Linked DNA regions of Homo sapiens: region 1 is linked to region 2. The links are contacts of gene promoters, found by promoter capture Hi-C in human tissues and cell types (Jung and others, 2019). All regions are on one chromosome and are shown on one strand. The core of a region is centred on a gene start or on the middle of the fragment in contact, and the rest is flanking DNA. Distances in the headings are between cores, read along the strand shown.

What was found. The method cuts DNA at HindIII sites, captures the fragments that hold promoters and counts their contacts. A contact is called where the count stands out against the background at its distance.
Region 1: a contact is called between a fragment that was not itself captured here and the fragment with the promoter of CISH in region 2, in 1 of the 25 tissues and cell types used here (H1 embryonic stem cells).

The regions. Positions count from the first base shown.
Region 1 is chr3:50,437,226-50,442,445 of GRCh38, reverse strand. All of the region lies in intron 2 of CACNA2D2 (calcium voltage-gated channel auxiliary subunit alpha2delta 2), which reads left to right. Among named protein-coding and RNA genes, the nearest start is that of CACNA2D2, 64 kb to the left of the region's middle. The HindIII fragment of the contact is 9,524 bases long and covers 1-5,220 here.
Region 2 is chr3:50,609,649-50,614,565 of GRCh38, reverse strand. It overlaps CISH (cytokine inducible SH2 containing protein), which reads left to right and starts at 2,792. Exons shown (of 3, transcript NM_145071.4): 1 at 2,792-2,935. The coding sequence starts at 2,916. It also overlaps a transcript of MAPKAPK3 not described here. RefSeq lists enhancers at 2,274-2,363, 3,273-3,833 and a silencer at 2,444-2,923. The HindIII fragment of the contact is 7,054 bases long and covers 1-4,917 here.

The sequences.
Region 1 (5,220 bases), core at 2,006-4,505, 170 kb after region 2:
GGGAGCTCAGAGGCAGGGGCTCAGGGAAGCTGCTTGGGGAAAGTGCTTCTTGGGCAGGCACTCAGCAGCCTACGCTAGAGCATTAACTTGTGACCTTGGAGATACATCGTGGATGGCTTTGGTCCTGCAGCATTTGTTTTGAGGTACACAGGAGTGTGCCTCATGCTGGCATAGGCAGGCGGGGACACTGGAGTGTGCCCCCTCTCCAGCCCCCTTGCCCAGGGCCATTTGGGATTGTCACTTCTGTAGTAGGGAGACCTCATTTGATTCTTTCTCACTCCAAACCTGTCCCCAAAGCATCCTCGTGACCACCAAGGGAGCCAGAATTTAGGGGAGATAAAGTCACAGACTGCAAGCTTCACATAGGCACACGGCCATAGGAATGCTGTTATCTAACGATGGCAGCCTGGAATCCAGCCACGGTGCTTGCTAATGATGGGTGAGTCCCTTCTCAGCATTCCTGACAGCTGGGCTGGAATAGTCCCTGTGGTGGGGGGCTCACTACTTATCCAGGTGTTGCTTTCAGGCTTTGGGAGTCCTGAGTGTGGGAAAGTTCCTCCCACTTCCGAGCTGGATTCTGCAACCCTGTTCACAGAAGCCATCAGGAACCTTGGAGAAAGGACCTCTCATTTTGGAGCTGGGTGGATACCATTTCCTTCTAGGACTGTTCTCCCCTGAGATACAGGCCTTAACACTGGAGGCCTCAAGTCAGGCCTGGTGTAAATGGATAATCAGGATTGCCACAGTTTTCAAGTCAGTTTGGAAATTCGCGTATGTTTCAGAGGAGCAAAGGGCTACACCCAGGAATGGGCCATGCCCAGTGTCTCTGGTGGGTGGTGCCTTGCCTGGGGGCACATTTAGGGCAGGCCTCACAGGCAGGCTCTGCACAGGGGCAAGCACAGGGAGGTTGGCACAGACTGGCCCTTGCTTGGCTGGGAGGATTTGGTTTATTGTTTTGTGTTGGGTTTTGTGTCTTTTGAAAAACAAGAGATTGAGCCTTTTTATGACATGGATTTTACAGCGTAACGAGGCAGCGTAATTTCCCATTCTCAGCAGCAAGTGCACTTTTTACACTAATTGCATAATTAGACATAATGTACTAATTGCGGTAATGGATGACAGTCAACTAAACTTTAACTTTAAAAACAGGGAGGCGTTGCTGGGGGTGGTGGTGGGGGCTTCAGGCCCCTGTGAGTTTTGTGAAGGTAATCTTGCTGGTGAAAGCTCCTAGAAGTTGCCTCTTGAGGACGAGGGACCACAGAGCCGCCAGGCCTTTCTCACCTTGTGGTCAGTCACATGTCCCTCCTTCCTGGAGGATCCCCCTGTCCCCACCACCTGGGTATCTGCTCCCCTTGCCCTCACACCCTGTCTCCCCAGCTTCTGTCCCCCAACAAGCCCCTCTGCAGCCACTGAGCAGTCCCTTATCCCCGCTTCTCCCAGCCTTTGCACCTGGCGCTACTGCTGCCAAGCGTCCCTCGTCCCTGTCCACCCACAAAAACCCCTGCCCAGCCTTTCAGACTGCTCAGATGTCCTCTCCCCTGGAAAGCCCTCCCCAGGCTTTTTCTTGCCCCCTACCACCCTGGAGCAGGCCAGCCCCACTCCCAAGTGTCTCCTGCACAGCTCTGTCTACTGCCACCTGTCTGGGCATCTGTCCCCTCTGGATAGAGAGTCCCAGGAGGGCAGGGACGAGGTCTGTTCCATCTCTGCTGTTCCAGGGGGATGTAAGGAGGTGGGGGTGGGGGAGGATAGTGCTATTAATGGGCCGCCCACCCAGGAGACCAGGCCAGGCACCCTCCTCTCTGCTCCCACACTGCTGTGTGACCTCCACTGTAGCCCGTGCAGGCTGATTGTAATGGCCTGGTTCTGTGTCTGTGATGCCCTCTAAAGAGAGCGTTCATCCCAGGCATTCTGTACTGGATATGAAGGGGAATTATTAATGGGACAACTAACATCACAGTGTACAAAACCTGTGTGTGACAGGACACCATATACAGCTGAGTGACCATGGGGCCACCCCGCCTGGGATGGTGGCAGTGTGGCATGGCCACTTAGGAACCTAACATGGCAGTTGGCAAAAATGTCAGCAGCTGATGAAGCATGTAACTGAGTGGCACGCAGCCCCCCTGCCTGGGCACCGATAGTGTGCCCTGAGGGCTCCAGGGGCCCCTTGCCCTACTGTAAGCCCTGTGCCAGGCTGGTGAGGGACAGGCCTTAGCCCCCTCCTGGGGAGCTGCCAGTCACACACCCAGTCTCGTGGCTGGTGTGTCCCCAGAGCAGCCAGATTAGGGTTTTTGTGCACCCATCATGGGGCAGCCCCTCAGTCCCATCAAGAACTAGGCTATAGGGAGAGCCCTGAGGGGTGCAGCCTGTCCTGGATCTGTCCCAAGTGCTGTCAGTGGTAGAGGGTCCCCAGGTGCCTGGTTACCCCATCAACTCTCCAGTCTTCAAGGTGGATTTGCAGTTATGTCAATACCCTCTATTTTCTCACTGAGGCAGAAGGCCAGGTTAGCAGCCTAGAAGGGGTGGGTGAGGCAGGGGGCCCGGACCTGGCTCTACCCTGACTGGCTAGGGTCCTTGAACTGGTCACTACCTGTCGCCAATCGCCCTACCTCATTGGCCCAGCTCAGGCTTCCTGAGCCACCACAAGCCCCCTAGCCACCCACCCAACATCCCTGACATGAGTGTAGCCCAGTCTGGCAGCTGACCCCGGCCTCCAACTGCAGACCCTGTGGCCTCTTGAGGTGGTTCCCTCCCCAGGGCTTGTTTATTTGGGTTGGGCCTCAGGAGGCCTCGCCCACAGTCTCTCATCCACTGGCTGCCCTCCCTGCAGGGGCCTAATGGACAGTTAAGACTTTCACCTGGCTGCTCCCTGTGGTGAAATGTGGTGAGGGGATTGGAGCGCCAGTCTCCCCGGAGTCATGCCTCGGGGCTCAGGCCAGGGGTGCTGGAGCACCTGGCAAAACCCCAAGGTGAGCTGGGTCTTTGAGGAGACAGCTGGCAGCAGGGCCAAGCCTGCGTCAAATCTTTCTTGTTCCATTTTCTTTCTGATTTAATTTTCCAGAGATTAGGGCTGTTCACCTTCGCTGCGGAGAGGAGCCTTGCGTGCGAGTGCCTGTTTTGACTCCCAGGGTTGGGTGGGTGCTTAGTCGATTGGGCTGGCCCTGCCAGTCTTCCCCTCATTCCCCTCCAGCATGGCCCTCCCACCTTCCAGGGGCCTCAGTCTTTCAGCCTCTGCCTGCATCCGCCCCAAGCCCTTCAGGCCTGCCCAGTTCATCCCTATGCCTCTTTTCCCATGGCTTTGCCTTCAAGTTTAGGGATAAAGGTGGGGTACAGAACTGTACAAAGAGTATGACCTAAAGCAAGGGCTTTGGATTCGACCCAGTTCAAACCGCAGTTTTGCATGCGCCTTAACCTCTCTGGCCTTCAGTGTCCTCTCTGCCACATGGAGATGATCAGAATGGACCCTCCTCAGGGGTTGTAGGAGATCAGTGATGTCATCTATGTAAACCACCTGCCCCAGAGCAGCCAGAGCTAACACTCGGGGCAAACAGGGCTGTTCCTGCAGCTTCCTTGGCCCTTCCTCCTTGCTTTTCCCCACTCTCCTTTCCCCTCTCCTCTCTCCTTTTCCTCTCCCCTTCCATCTTCCCCCTTGCCCTAGGCAGGTTTGCTGGTAGCTCAGGTCTGGGCTCCCTTGCTGCTGACTTTCTAAAATGCCTTCTGATTGGGGCCTGCCCAGGTCACTTGTCCTGAGGCCTTTAGTTTCCTGTGGTGGCTGTCTCTATGTTCCAGGCACGTTGGGGCTGGTAGTTGGACTCCTCTCTCCCAGGCAGCTCTGTTAGGAGCTGTGGGAACGAGGCTGGCTCCCTTTGCTCCTGCCAGCATGCAGGCTTCCTGTCCAAGGTCACCATTCCTGCAAGGGTCCTCCAGGCTCGCCTCCCACTTACACGGAGCCATGGGGGAAGCAGGAGGCTGGGCAGAGGGTTCGGGGCTTCTAAGGAGGCATCAGCCCCCACGGCCCTGTGAAGCCCTAGGATGGAGGGCTGGCCGGACTTGCCCTGATGCCTAACTGAAGAACTGCTAGAGCTGAGAGAGGGTTGAAGCTAGAGCCAGCCCTGGGGGAGGGGAGAGGTGGAGGGGCAGGTCTCCATCACTGGTGGGATAGGAGTGCCCTCAAGGGAGGAGGGCACCAGCTGAGCCATGGTCACCAGTACATGAAACAAGGGGGGGAACCAGGAATTCCTGGGAACAAGGGGCTCCAAACAGACTCCTGAATTGTCCCTTGGGACCTCAGCCACCCCTGTTCTCCCTGTTCCTCAGTCCTCCCCCACATCCCCACCTGGCTCCAGTCTGCTACCCTGTCCCACCAGCATCCTGGCACTCTCTGTGGGTTAAAGCTGCTGCCTCTCCCTCCCTATCACTGCTGGCACAGAGCTGGGGCACCCTGGGATCAGCTGGGCCCCGTCGTGCTCCTTAGTCCAGCAGAGGTGGGGCTGTGCCGGCTGTGCTGCTGTGGGAGCAGTTGGCTTTTTCTAATTAACTCTCTGGGCCAAGGACATCAGTGGGCATTGCCATCCTGCTGTGGTGGTTGAGGCTCTGCATCCGGTGCACCCTGGCCTTTCTGCACTTCCCAGCTGGCCCTAGGAGCCAGGGCTAGAGGCTGGGGCTGGAGTGGGGCTAGTCTTGGGCAGAGTCTGTGCACTGGAGTTGCCCTGGGCTCTCCTGGGCTCCTGCTGGGCCTGCAGGTGGAAAGCACCTCCCTGGACCACATCAATGTAGAGATGACCTTTCTCCCAGGATGGGACCATCTGCTGGGCTGTGTCACTTAGATCTCCTGGGGATTTGGGGCTCAGCTCAGGGCCCACCCTAGAAGACAGGAACAATTGGAGCAAGTTCAGGGGAATGTTGAGGGGGAGGGCTGTGGCACTAGGGGCTATCATTCGAGGACTGTTGCACCTCAAGGGCTCATTTGGGATTGGGGAGCAGGCTTGGCTGGCAGCATGACCAGCCCCTGCACTTCTGGGATTCTGCTCTCCTCTCAGCAGAAACCCCTTCCAGCCCATTTCCCTGGCCTTGCCCTAGAGAGGATTTAGATAGCAGGGCAAGGTGGAGGGGATGCAGGGACAGCGTGAGTCAAAGTATAGCTGTGGGAACTGGCCTGGGCTGGAGACCCAGAGGCCTGCAGGCACATGACAGGTCAGTGGGCTTGATGGGACCCAGACC
Region 2 (4,917 bases), core at 1,543-4,042:
TAAAGTGAGGGGGGCTAAATCCTACACACACACACACACACACACACACACACACACACACACACTCTGTCCTTACTGGAGAGGGGAGGCTGTACATGGTGAGAGGATGGAGGCCAAATGAGCGAGACTTTTGGGAAGGCACTGCTGTGTATTCTTGTGATTCATCTTGTGATTGTTCTGGGTAGGGAGTGGCAGGGGAATCTTGCAGTAAGTTCAATCCCTGGGGTGCAGGAGAGGGATTATCCTAGAAGAGAAGAATCTATGGAAATTTGGCTAGTGAGGGCATGAGAGGGGGCACCGCTAGGTGGCAGTGTGGGCCCAGCAATCAGAGCCAGGGTTTCTAGGGAGCAGCCAGGGCAGGAGAATTAAGTACTAAGTTGGCCAGAGGGACCCAACTTAGTACTTGGGGCAGAACAGGGGCACATCACTGTTCCCAGCATGCAGGTGAGGTGCACAGTGCTGTCATATTCACACACACACAAAAATAGTTGGAAGGCCAAAACCCTTGGAACCCTTTGGTTTACACATAGACTGCATAATCACTGACCTGTAGGAGATACTTTCAAAGGGACACCCATGGTGCTCTGACATGGACAGGCCTGGGGGCAGAGAAGCTTCACTGAGGACCTTAAAGCTGGATGTCTAGGAGTCGGCAGATCACCAGCACCCATAGAGGAAGTAGGAGGAAGTGTGTAGGCTCCTGGCTTAAACCATTACTTGCCAGCTGGGAGATCTAAGTTATATTGTAACCTCTCCATGCCTCAGTTTTCTCACCTGTAAAGAGGAGATAATATGTGGTAGTTGTGACAATGACATGAGGCTGCAAATTGCTGAGAGTGCTTGACACATAGTAAGTGTTCAGTTGAATAGTCATGGTGAGGGGGAAGAAGTATAGTTTTGGTAGAGAGCTTGGGATTTGGCCCCATAAGAGACCCAAGTTCAAAATTGTAACTCTGTTGCCTGGCAGCGGCAAAGTCCTTTTGTCTTCATAGTAATGAGACAGTGGACAGTTCCTACTGGCAAGTCAGTGGTCCACACAGGGGCCGCATATCAGGCTATCCAGGTATCCCAGCCCTCAAAGTGGGTTATAAGGTATCCATCCCCCCTACCCCCATTCCAAGAAAGTGGCTTCTGGCCAACTCAGGAGGGGGCTGGCAGAGTTGCACTCATGAAGCCCGGCTTCCCTTCAGGAAAGCTACAGAGAAGTGACTGCCCTGAAATCTGAAACTTAACGTTTTTTCCCCAGTTTCACAGGGTTTTGCTTTCAGGTTTCTTTTGCCCTCTGCCATTCTGGGCAGAGCAAACTGAGCCCTGTCTTCCCTGGATGCTATCGTTCAGGCCCTTCAACAAGGCCAGGGGTCTGTCATCCCTGCCCAGGATCTCAGAGCTAGACTCCTTTCTGGGGACCCTGGGGGCACACACTGGGAGGGGGATGGGGGTGGGGAGTGGACCCTGCAACCTCTCCAAATCCCACAGTTCTTCTGGCCCAAGGGTTTGGAGGAGATTCACAGACCCTACAGTCCTTCAAGATGCTCCATAGTGAATCCAGTGAACTGAAAAAAGGTGGAGAGGGTCCTGGTAGGAGCGTGGGCTTCTGATTCAGAGCTGGGACCAAGCTCTTACCCTGCCATTTCCTAGCATTTGTTCCCTGGGGCTGTCTTCTGTCCGCATAACGGGAGCAACACCAGTTGTAGAGGATCAAATGCAGCAAGTACTCCCTGTAGATAAGAGCGAGTGTTACTACTCTGCCCCCGCCATCCCGCCCCAACCTCTATCACCCTACTCCCAGATTATCTCCCTATGTTTTGAGTTGCAGGACTCTCTCTCAGCATTTTTTTTCTGGCGGGGGGTGGGGGTGGTACCAACCCAGAGTCCGGGCCATCTGGGGCTGTCTCTGCTTGCTTTCTCAAATCTGTAGTCTCTTCTCCCCTGACTGGCAGGGCCGGCCAGAAACCAGTGCCAGCCAAGACTGGATGGTCTGCCTGATTCGAAAAGTTGGGGCGTGCTTTCTCCTTCAACTCTTTCAAAGAAAACGTTCTTGTCTGGATCTTTCTGGCTGTGGTGACCGCCGGCTTGACCTCAGTGGACCCACTCATTTCTGGAACTGTCCTCTGCACCCCGCCCTGCCCTAAGTCCCGCTCCAGATCTCACCCCATGCCACCCAATCCGACACCCGACACACAGAGTCCTAGGGTCCAGGAGCGGCCGTCCCAACACGGGGCGCTTGCACACGCCGACAGACCTCCTTGGAGGAGCCGCTCGCAGGGAGGACAAGCCCGGGACTCCGCCCCCCGCCCTGCCACGAGTTCCACCGCGAGATAAGAGGGCCCTTCCCCAACGACGCAGAATGCCAGAAGGCAATCTGGGCGCGGGTTGCTGAGCCCGGGCCCCTCCTTAACTTCCCCGACCCGGTCTTTCCCCACTGATCTCTCCGACCTGCCCCTCTGGGTAGCTTCAGCCCCGGGTCCACGCGCTGCTATTGGCCCTCCCCGACCGCTCGGCTCCACCTTCAGCGTCGCGATTGGTCAGCTCGCGGGGCCCCGCCCCGTTTTCCTGGAAAGTTCTTGGAAATCTGTCAAAGTATTTCCTTTCACTGCTCAGGGCCCCAGACCCGGCGACGGGGCCCGCGCACCCCGCCCGGGCCCCACCGCTCAGCCCGCGGTTCTAGGAAGACGCTGCTTCCGGGAAGGGCTGGAACGCGGCAGACAAAGGATTAGGCAGCAGCTCGCCCCGCCCCGCTCGTCTGGCCCGCCCCCCTCGCCCTCGCAGGCGGTCCGCGCCACTGCCTCTCAGTCCCTGTCCTGCGCCCGCGCGCCCCGGGAGCCTACCCAGCACGCGCTCCGCGCCCACTGGTTCCCTCCAGCCGCCGCCGTCCAGCCGAGTCCCCACTCCGGAGTCGCCGCTGCCGCGGGGACATGGTCCTCTGCGTTCAGGGGTAAGCGCGGCTCTCTGCCCCCTTCCCGGCCACCACGAGGGGCGCACGGGAGAACAGGGGCTTCGTGCTAGCTGCCGGGCATTGGGAGGGCTTGACGGGCCAGAGGTGACTGAGCGCAGACGGACCTCAGGAGCAAGGCTCTGTGTGGGGCTGTGACACTCCCACTCCCCGCCCCCACACACTTACCTCAATTCCCACTGTGGATTGGGAAACCGGGGGCTGGCCGGCTAAAGGAGGAACTCACAGGGTGGGCTCAGCCTGGGTTCTCATTGGAGCAGATGGATGCTAACGGCACGGCGTCCCCCAAGATGTGGCCAACAATCCCAGATATTCTTCTGGGCCCAGAGCACTCTACGCTAGCCTGCCTGCTGCCCTGCCTGCTAGTAACCTTGGACCAGCCCCTGGCCCCCTCTGTCCTGGTGTCCCCTCTCCTGCCCCAGGCTAGCAAGTAGGCTCTTCTTGGGAAGCCAGCCGCAGATCCTTGCCTTTCCTCAGGCTGGCACCTGATGGTCTGCAACTCTCGGGAGGCCCTGGGTTTGGCCTGGTCCTGCTTGGGGTACCCCCACAATCGTCTCACAACCCTGTCTCAGCCCAGTCTGGGATCCCAATGTGAGAAGGACCTTGGCTCCTGCCTCTCATCTTCAAATTTCCCAGACTTGAGGTAAGGGACAGTGGAGAGGGGATGCTGATAAGACAGAGTCTTGACCTGAGCTGAGCATTCCTGGCCATCCACTCTGTCCTGAACCTCAGCAACCCCTTCAACCAAAGGGTCTGATGCTGGCCATGGTGATGTGACAGGAGCTCAGGAAGCTCCAAGGAGAGAGGAAGAAGGTATAAATGGGTGTTCTGCACTCAGGGAGGACTGGGTGGCTGTGCTTATCGCAACTGGCCTGGTGCCAAGTGAGGGAGGGTGGAAGGTGAGGCCAAGGAAGAGGACATGGAGGTGCTGGGAAGACTACTTCTCCCTTGCTGTCTCCAGCAAGTTCCTTCCTCCTGTCTGCATTCTGGGACTCCTGAATACCTGCCCCACCACTGCCTTCCACCCCAGGAGCCTCCCCCTGCATTCCGGGGTCCCATAGCCTCTTTCACTTTTTACCCTAGGTGAGCACCCCCTTGTAAGCTCAGGGCTACTGTTGGGTGTCAGGGAACAAAGTTTTAGACTGCTGCGCTCCAAAGCGGGCACACACATGTACCTAGAACACACCAGCCACTGTCCCCACCATGATGATGACACAGCCATGGACACACCCCTGCCCAGGTACACACTCACCAGGAGCTTGTGGTGATCAACACAGCTATTCATACACCCAGCTACCACATCAGCCCCAAAGGTGCCCACACCTACATGTGGGATCTGAGGACCGGCTAAGCTATCTGGACGTGGCCACCCACAGAGGTTCCAGCCTGACTGGCTAGCCACCAACCATGCTCCTGGGAAGGTAGCTCTGGGCCCCAGCAAGCAGGTCATCTCAAAATTTGGCCTCCAGCTCTCCAAGAGGGATTTCCAAGATCCCACAGTACAGCCAGGGTAGGTGTGGAAAAGTTTTTGTCAGGCTGTGGTGTGCCAGAGTTGTGTGGCCCTTTCTCACTGTGAGTGGTCATAGGGCCATGATTTGTTAGAACCTAGAGGGTCACCTATAACCTACACAGGAGTCAGGTCTGGCTCCTGCCACCAGCTCCTGCCTGCGCCTTCCTGCCTCACAAGCAATACTGGCGCTGTTTGCCCATGCTGTCCTCTCTACCTGGGGTCCCTTCCCCCAGCTCCTTCCTTTGGCCTGGAAGACACAGCTCAGGAGCAAGCAGACCCTGACTCCCCCGTGACACCTGCAGTTTTATGACTTTGCATTATAATTACTCTTAGTGTCATCTTCCCCAGCCAGTCTGGTTCTCCTTGAGGGCAAGGCCATGGTTTCATTATGGCGGTGTCCTGAGGCCCAGCCAGGGACTAGACCCAGAACTAAGGCTTGGAGATGTATTTTGCA